Regions from separate parts of the Homo sapiens genome. Here all the other regions are linked to region 3. The links are contacts of gene promoters, found by promoter capture Hi-C in human tissues and cell types (Jung and others, 2019). All regions are on one chromosome and are shown on one strand. Each heading gives the region's core, a stretch centred on a gene start or on the middle of the fragment in contact. The rest is flanking DNA. Distances are from core to core; before and after follow the strand shown. Region 1 overlaps SOAT1 (sterol O-acyltransferase 1). Region 2 overlaps ABL2 (ABL proto-oncogene 2, non-receptor tyrosine kinase). Region 3 holds the start of C1orf220 (chromosome 1 putative open reading frame 220).

Region 1 (2,769 bases), core at 16-2,515, 800 kb after region 3:
CATACCTTGATTTCTTAAATATATTTATTGCATTTTTTTGTCTATTATAGAGATATATGAGTACCTAGTACTATGCCAGGTGCAGAGGACTCAGAAGTGAACAAGAGATGTATTATCTTTACAGTCTGGGAGCTTTTATAGTTTCCCTTACTTTTCCTCTTTTCTTTACTCATTGAATGTTGGTAATGTTTTCTGTCATCACCTTCCCTTTCTTTTCTTCTCTTGCATTCCTCTTCCAGTAACCCTCCCTCACCAGCCCCAGGACTTATTTGAATGAACTCTGTATCTGTCCCTAAAATAGAATATGTGTTACATACTTGAGTGTCTTCCTCACTAGCTGCAAAGTTATTGAGTTCAAGGATTGTGTTTTATAGCCAATCACAGTCTCTCTCATATTGTCTGGTACATAGTTGATGCTCTATAAATATATATTTTTCAATAAATGAGTGAAAGAGATGGACATATAAATGGATATTTTACAATATATTGTAATATGTACTACATAAGTAGGATAAACAAAATGCTTATGGCCTTTGTTTCACATTAGAGATAACATTTAATATTGGGTATTGAAAAATAGGTAGGTATTTGCCTGGCAGAGAATTGGTGGAAAGGTCATTCTAGGTAGTGGGATGGATGCAAGGGCATGGAGCATTCTGGAATGGCATAAACCCAGTTGTGGATAATGTTTACAACACTTAGAGGGTAGAATCACTGGAGATATGTTTAGAATGTTATCCATGTCACTATGTTAACCATGTCACTATTAACATTTTGGACTGGTTAATTCTTTGTTTGGAGTGGCATTCTTCTGCATTGTAGCATAAACTGTTCAGCAGCATCCTGGCCTCTAACAACTAGATACCAGTGGCACCACTCCCTCTCCTCCAATTGTCACAGCACTGGTGCAGTAGCTTGCACCGGTAGTCCCAGCTATTCTGGAGGCTGAGGTGGGAGGATCACTTGAGCCCCAGGAGTTGAAGTTCAGCCTGGGCAACATAGTGAAACCCTGTCTTTTAAAAACAAAAAGTCTCTAGAATTTCAAATGTCCTGTGGGGGAGAGGGGGCAAAATCTCTCCCAGTTTTAAACAATTGTTTAAGAGGGGGGTATGGGGGCCAGATTTTTAAAGGACCTTGGGTACTAAGTTAAGCCATATATTTAGGCATTTCTTAAAAACAGACTGGGTAGGCTGGGCGCGATGGCTCACGCCTGTAATCCTAGCACTTCGGGAGGCTGAGGTGGGCAGATCACAAGGTCAGGAGATTGAGACCTGCCTGGCCAACATGGTGAAACCCGGTCTCTACTAAAAATACAAAAAATTAGCCAGATGTGGTGGTACATGCCTGTAGTTCCAGCTACTTGGGAGGCTGAGGCAGGAGAATTGCTTGAACCCTGGAGGCAGAGGTTGCAGTGAGCCGAGATCGCGCCACTGCACTCCAGCCTGGGTGACAGAGCAGGACTCTGTCTCAAAAAAGAAAAAAAAAAACCAGACTGGGTAATGTCATTTGTTGAACCCACTTTGAAGGAAGTTACTGTTTTAAAATTAAGATAATTAACTCCAAAAGTATATCATCTCTGGAATGGGTAAACTGGAATAATAACTTATATTTTACAAAATAATCCCAGCTAAATAAAATGATGTGATATAATTAGTTGCTTGGTATGTGAGCTATTTGGAAAGACTGTTAATATTGTTAATCTTATTTTTAGGTGTGCTGATTCTCTTCCTTACTTTTTTTGCCTTTTTGCACTGCTGGCTCAATGCCTTTGCTGAGATGTTACGCTTTGGTGACAGGATGTTCTATAAGGTAGTATATACTTAGACTTAGCTTTCTTTTTACATTTTATTAACTTCTTCATTATTAGTATTTTGACATTGTTGGCTAATGTCACCAGCCTTTCACACAAACATTGTGAAATAATTTTCTTTTCTACAAGTTTTGCCAGTATTTTCTGAAATTCGGTTACAGATATAACTAGCATAACCTTGTGTTTTCTTCTGTCTCTAATATCTGCTCCCTTAACATAAGCACATGGTTTCTGCTGGATCCTGCAAGGATATATTGGTGATTCCAGTAGGAAACTGTTTGTTCAGAGCACACCATGAGACTTCCCTGAGTGTTCATTCATTTGAAATGGACCGTCTAGTTCTGTAGGAATGACCTCAGCAAATTATTCCATTTAAGACAATTGAGCAGTTCATGAGGGAAATAACTTTTCCCTCTTTAGTTTTGAAAGGTGTTAATTTTGCTTCAGATAGTATCCTTATGCTTCTAAAGTTGGAATTAAGCTATAGAATTAGAGTCAGAATGGCTCATAGCATTCTTTAACCCTACCTAAAGCTCTCTTTGAGTTGTTTTTGGCAACACTCCAAGTCTACCACCTTTTTTCTCAAAGAAACTTTAAGTGTGGATTGCAGATTTTAGATACCTGATTTCATTCATCTGATCTTAATATTGGGAGCAAGAAGCATATATAGGGATACCAGGACTTTGAGGTAGCCACCATCTCACCCTGGATAATTTTGCCATTTATGGTAACCACCAAACAGCTCTCTAGTGTTAGCACTCTCTCTGGTCTTCATGACCATAGAATTTTCTCATGACATTCTAGTAGGGTAAGGGGGGTGGGGCTTACTGATTGCTGTTTAGATGAACATTAGATTTAAATGATTCTATGTGTTCCGTATGAACCTAGGAACTAAATCATATATAGTATGAGAATTCATGTCATATTCAACACTAATAACCAAAATGCCTTTGAAGATT
Region 2 (2,700 bases), core at 16-2,515, 580 kb after region 3:
CTGGGAATTCATATGCCTCTGAGTATTTGTCTATTTGAGCAAAAGCAGAGTTACCTGTATTAATTCTATAAGGGGCCAAGAAAACCAACATGTCTAGAGTTTTGCACATGGCCCATGATTCTCCTCCTCAACTGCAGGCTAACAATACTTATTCAAAAGTAATAGCAATTGTGCACAAGCTGAAGACTATGTGAGCCCCACCTGCAATACTGCTTTGCAAAATGATTTTCATCATTTCCATAGTCAAGGATTTCACTGATATATGGCAGATTCCTTATAAAAAACCAACAAGAGGCCGGGTGCAGTGGCTCATGCCTGTAATCCTAGCACTTTGGGAGGCTGAGGCAGGCAGATCGCCTGAGCCCAGCAGTTCAAGACTTGACTGTCCAACATAGCAAAACCCTGTCTCTACTACAAAAATTAGCTGGGCGTGGTGATGCACGTTGAGGCACGAGAATAGCTTGAACCTGGGAGGTGGAGGTTGCAGTGAGCCAGGATCATGCCACTGCACTCCAGCCAGGGTGACAGAGCAAGACTCTGTATTTAAAAAACAAACAAAAAAAAACACCCCCCACACCCCCCCAAAAAAAAGAAAAAAAAAAAAACCTGGCCCTATTTTAAAAAAGGAAAAAGGCTTAGTAAGAGAGTTCTTTGTGACCTGAACAGTGAAAAGCCAATCTAACATAATAAAGCATTTCCTGCTTGTAAAGGTAAACTGAGGGGTGTGGTCACAGTTTTTAATTTGCTTCTTTTCAACAGTCCTTTGTTTAATGTCTCTTTATTTTGCAAAAACATTTCATGAGTTTTTGGTTCAGTACCATTTTGAACACTTCTGAACTTTGAATCTGGGGCAATTAGTACAAACTGAGCAGTTTTATACACCAAAATCAATCCAGGCCACTGTTTCTTGGGCTATTTTTAAACACAGAACCTACTGATTAAAATAACTATTTATTGAAGTGGATTCAAACCTGCAGCTTCCACCATGGTGACTAAAAAGAAAGGTTTGGGGGAGGAAAAAAGGCGGGGCATGGTGGCTCATGCCTGTAATCCCAACATATTGAAAGGCCCAGGCGGAAGTATCACGTCAACAGCAGCCTGGACAACAGAGCGAGACCCTGTCTCTATATTTAAAAAGAAAAAAAAAAAGCATTTGGAGATAACAAGGGGTTAAAGGGCAAGCATTTTTGGAGGAAATCTATGGTTCAGGCAAGGTTCCTCACCTAAAAGTTGTACCAGATTAGGATGCTTGATTTCCTTCATTACTGCAGCTTCTTTCAGGAATTCTTCTACCTCCATGGTATCTTCCTAGAAAAAGGGAAAGGTAAGAAAGAAGAAAACGAGAGGGACAAACCCTCAACTTAAAATCATTTCATTCATCTCACAATCATAAAGCTTCAGCTTTAAAAGTAAAAACTATCTTTTGAATATTTTAGCATATTACAAGATATAATTATTATTTTAATTTAATTTATTTTTTTGAGACACGGTCTCGCTCTGTTACCCAGGTTGGGGTGAAGTGGTGTGATCTCACTGCAACCTCCGCTTCCTGGGCTCAAGCGATTCTCCTGGCTCAGCCTCCCAAGTAGCTGGGATTACAGGCATGCACGACCATGCCTGGCTACTTTTTGTATTTTTAGTAGAGACGGGGTTTTGCAATGTTGGCCAGGATGCTCTCCTGACCTCAGGTGATTCGCCCACCTGAGCTCCCCAAATTGCTGGGATTACAGGTGTGAGCCACCACGCCCAGCTGAAATAATTATTATTTTAAGAAGTCCAACTTAGAAAGAAAAATGCCCTGGAGTAAAAATTAGCAGGAGGAGCAAAATTCAGCAATCGTGTCCTATAATCAACTGAAACACAGGAGCCCTGTATTGGATAGTTCAGTTCTCTCATAGTTTACTTCTCCAGATATCTCAGGCTTTGAATGACGAGACAGAGCACTTAGCTGCTTACATACTTATCTTCTTGCTTAGATCATAATCTTCTTAGAGAGCAAGGCCTTATATATTGCTTCACACTCAGAATATGCTTAAGAAACAGAACTGACTACTACTTAATAGCTAAAGAATAGCCCTTATAAGTGATACACCAGAGACAGTTACTGAGGCTCTGGGAGAATCAAGTGAGTGAAAACCTTATAATTTGATACTGGGATGTTTAAAGGAGACATATAGTAGTACTACGAAAAAGATTTCTGTTAATATTAAGAAGTGATCTAACTGCAAAGAGACAGGAGGAACAAGAACAAGGGAGAGAAAGGACAGAACAAGAAAGAGGCCCATGACTCTCAGACAAGAATTCTGTCCAGCAGGGGTCGTTCTCAGGAAGCAAAAGAGCTTATTTTGCTTTTATAACTTTTAATTTGCTTCTAACCTCCCACTAAGATCTACATCAACAGCCTCCAGAGACAGACCTTTCCCACATGTGGGTTTCACTGCATTGCAGTGAATAATCTACCTCTGCATTGTCAGCAATGGCACTAGGGTTAATCATCTCAATTTGCTGATGTGCTTGGCACTAGTGGGTGGAAAGTGTTCCAAAGTTAAAGAAGGGCATGCTGATATTTCCAAGTGATTGAGCACAAAAGAAAAAGATGCCTGAAAACTGTAATTCTCAGCAACCCACCTTCAATGTTTTCACAGCAACTGTAAGGCTGTATTTCTTCCAGACGCCAACGTAAACCTCTCCATACTGACC
Region 3 (2,700 bases), core at 56-2,555:
GTAGGTCAGGTCATTGCCCCCTGTCAGACTCAAGCCCATCACAGCCCTTGCTATGCTGACAGGCCCATCCCACCCCAGCCCGCTCCCCCCACCACCTGCCCCCCTCCGCCACCTCACCTGTGCCTTCTGCACGCCTCTCCCACCACTCCCCCTCCCTCCCTTTACTCTGGCCACTCTGAATGTCACTGGTCCTCCTTGAGCCCTCCTGAGCCCTCTGCCCAGAGTAATGCCAGAGTGGAGGCCACAGCTGAAGGCAGAGGCTGTTGGCCTGGGGTGGAGAGGGGAGATTCCTCTGGGTGGAAGGTGACATTGGGCAGCCTTGGATGAAGTGAATACCTGGTGTGGGGAAGCAAAAATAAATAGAGAAACAAACGGATTAATTTTGCTTCTTTCCAGGGACTTGATTTTCTACAAGTGCTGCTCCAAGAGGCTTCTACACCCCCGCAGGGAGGCAAGCACCGTTTTGAGGTGGCCGGGCTGGCGAGGAGGTGCAGACCCCAGCCAGCTGGAGGGGCTCTGCCCTGATGGCGTTCCCACTCCCACCTCATTCGCAGGGCGCCGGGGAGGGCTGCAGGTGTTCTATTCCCACCCGGCTTGCAGCGCAAGGAGGGGAATCGCCTGACACCTTCCCCTTCTCCTCTGCCCCGCTTCCTTTCTCTGCTCCCACAGGTGGAAGTCACCAGCGGAAACAACCCTTCACTGTATGGAGGGCTGGGAGAGAGGGGCCAAGAGGGCCCCGGGAGAGCCACTGGGCGGCAGGCAAGGGGCGGGGCAGTCTCCCTTCCGGCTTCCGGGACCGAAGGGTGAAGGGCAAGGGGAGCTCAGGGAATGAACGAGTGCTCCCGACTAATGTTTAACCCACGACTCCGAGACTCCGACTGGTCACAGTCCTGCAGACCTCCAGGTCCTGCACAGGCGACGCAGCGCTCCACTGGCCCGGAATGCGCACCCCGGGGGAAATGGAAAGTGCCATTGAAATGTCAGATGTCACCGTCTTCATCAGCACTCTTGGAATTTTGGCCAAAGTGGCTTCTTCTTTTGCTGAGACTTGACTCACTCCCGGCAGAGGGATGATAGCGGCCTTGCCCCGAGCGTTTATCCGGCTGCAGGCGTCATTCTTGGTCGCCTGTGTGTCCAGAGCCCCAGCGCAGGAAGGGAGCGCAATTCCCACCGCGCCCGCTGGGTGGCGCTAGCGCCGCACCGTGTCCCGGGATGAGGGGAAACCGCGCTGCCCAGTCAGTACCCCGACGCCCCCGCGCCCCCGCCGGGCCCCGCGCGCTGCAGCCACCGCCTCTTCTCGGCTTCCTCTTGCTTTACAGTAACTCTCCTCCTGGGGAAAAGGCTTTTCACGGAGCAGGCTCGGAGCCTACGGGGCTGGCCTCGGACTGGATGGGGGTAAGGACGGGTGGCGGCGCTCGCGCCGAGCGAACGGAGGGCTCAGGCGGCCGGTGATCAGGGACGGGCTGCGGCCGCCGTCTGGGGTGAGAGGCCCACCCAGAGCTCTGGGCCAGGGCTCGCGGCTCTCGTGCAGATGCTGGGCCGGGAGGTGTGGGGAGGGGGCTTCCCAGGCGGGGCAACCGGAGGGGAATGGGGTGTGCAGGAGGGAGGGGAGGCGTGGAGCGCCCGGCCTGCAGGCACTGGGCGGCGCTCTCCAGCCTCCTCTTCTCCCGCCGGGTGCCTGGTGGCTTGGCCTCCCCTCCAGAGCTTCGCATATCCTGGCGGGAGCCGGCGCTCTCTCTCCATACTTAGGACTTGACCCTTATTCCACACCCGGGCAGGGAATCATTTGCCCAATCCGAATTTGATTTTCTGCTTGTGAGAGGAGAAACTGGTGACAGTGTCGCATGGACACTGTCGGGGAAGCCGAGACGTAGACCTGGAAGCCTGTACCAGAGGCCTTGTGGACAGCTTTGGAGCATGCATCTTAAGGCACACCACCGGTTTCTGCTGCTTTGGCACAGCCACGCAGCACCTAGGATGCTTCTCTGCACGCAGCAGAGGCCTAATCCGTGCACCCTCTGACGGTGTTGGAGGGAGCTGGGGAGCAACATCAGATTAATAGCCCCTGGGCTATTTGTATGACGTGCAGATTTCACCCTCTCATTCTTAAAGGGTGAAAGGCTGCAATTCAGAAAGGCGAAGATGGGGCCCAGGAATCTGCAATCTGCGTGGGGTTTTTTTTTTTTTTATGAAGTCTTGTTCTGTCGCTCAGGTTGGGGTGCAGTGGCGCGATCTGTGCTCACCGCAACCTGTCTTCCAGGTTCAAGCGATTATCCTGCCTCAGCCTTCTGAGTAGCTGGGACTACAGGTGCATGACACCACACCTGGCTAATTTTTGTATTTTTAGTAGAGATGGGGTTTCACCATGTTCGCCAGGCTGGTCTTGAACTCCTGACCTCAAGTGATACGCCCACCTTGGCCTCCCAACGTGCTGGGATTACAGGCATGAGCCACCGCGCCTGGCCAGAGTTTGCATTTTGTTGTTGTCGTTTGTTTGTTTGAGACGGAGTCTCGCTCTGTGGCCCAGGCTGGAGTGCAGTGGCGCCATCTCGACTCACTGCAACCTCTGCTTCCCAGGTTCAAGCGATTCTCCTGCCTCAATCTCCCAAGTAGCGGGGATTAACAGGCGTGCCACCACCATGCCTGGCTAAATTTTTTATTCTTAGTAGAGACAGGGTTTCTCACGTTGGGCAGGCTGGT

Evidence for each region. Contacts are between HindIII fragments. The study calls those that stand out against the background at their distance.
Region 1: a contact is called between a fragment that was not itself captured here and the fragment with the promoter of C1orf220 in region 3, in 1 of the 25 tissues and cell types used here (spleen).
Region 2: a fragment that was not itself captured here is called in contact with the fragment with the promoter of C1orf220 in region 3 in 2 of the 25 tissues and cell types used here (aorta and hippocampus).

Annotation. Positions count from the first base shown.
Region 1 is chr1:179,345,889-179,348,657 of GRCh38, forward strand. It overlaps SOAT1 (sterol O-acyltransferase 1), which reads left to right. Exons shown (of 16, transcript NM_003101.6): 12 at 1,712-1,809. Among named protein-coding and RNA genes, the nearest start is that of AXDND1, 19 kb to the right of the region's middle. The HindIII fragment of the contact is 9,338 bases long and covers 1-2,769 here.
Region 2 is chr1:179,118,967-179,121,666 of GRCh38, forward strand. ABL2 (ABL proto-oncogene 2, non-receptor tyrosine kinase) reads right to left here. Exons shown (of 12, transcript NM_007314.4): 5 at 2,629-2,700; 6 at 1,224-1,308. Among named protein-coding and RNA genes, the nearest start is that of TOR3A, 38 kb to the left of the region's middle. The HindIII fragment of the contact is 4,159 bases long and covers 1-2,700 here.
Region 3 is chr1:178,541,491-178,544,190 of GRCh38, forward strand. C1orf220 (chromosome 1 putative open reading frame 220) reads left to right here and starts at 1,306. Exons shown (of 3, transcript NR_033186.1): 1 at 1,306-1,395. LOC124904460 (a long non-coding RNA gene) reads right to left here and starts at 1,155. Exons shown (of 2, transcript XR_007066748.1): 1 at 544-1,155; 2 at 1-336. RefSeq lists an enhancer at 1,001-1,060 and silencers at 1,111-1,440, 1,471-1,540. The HindIII fragment of the contact is 22,776 bases long and covers 1-2,700 here.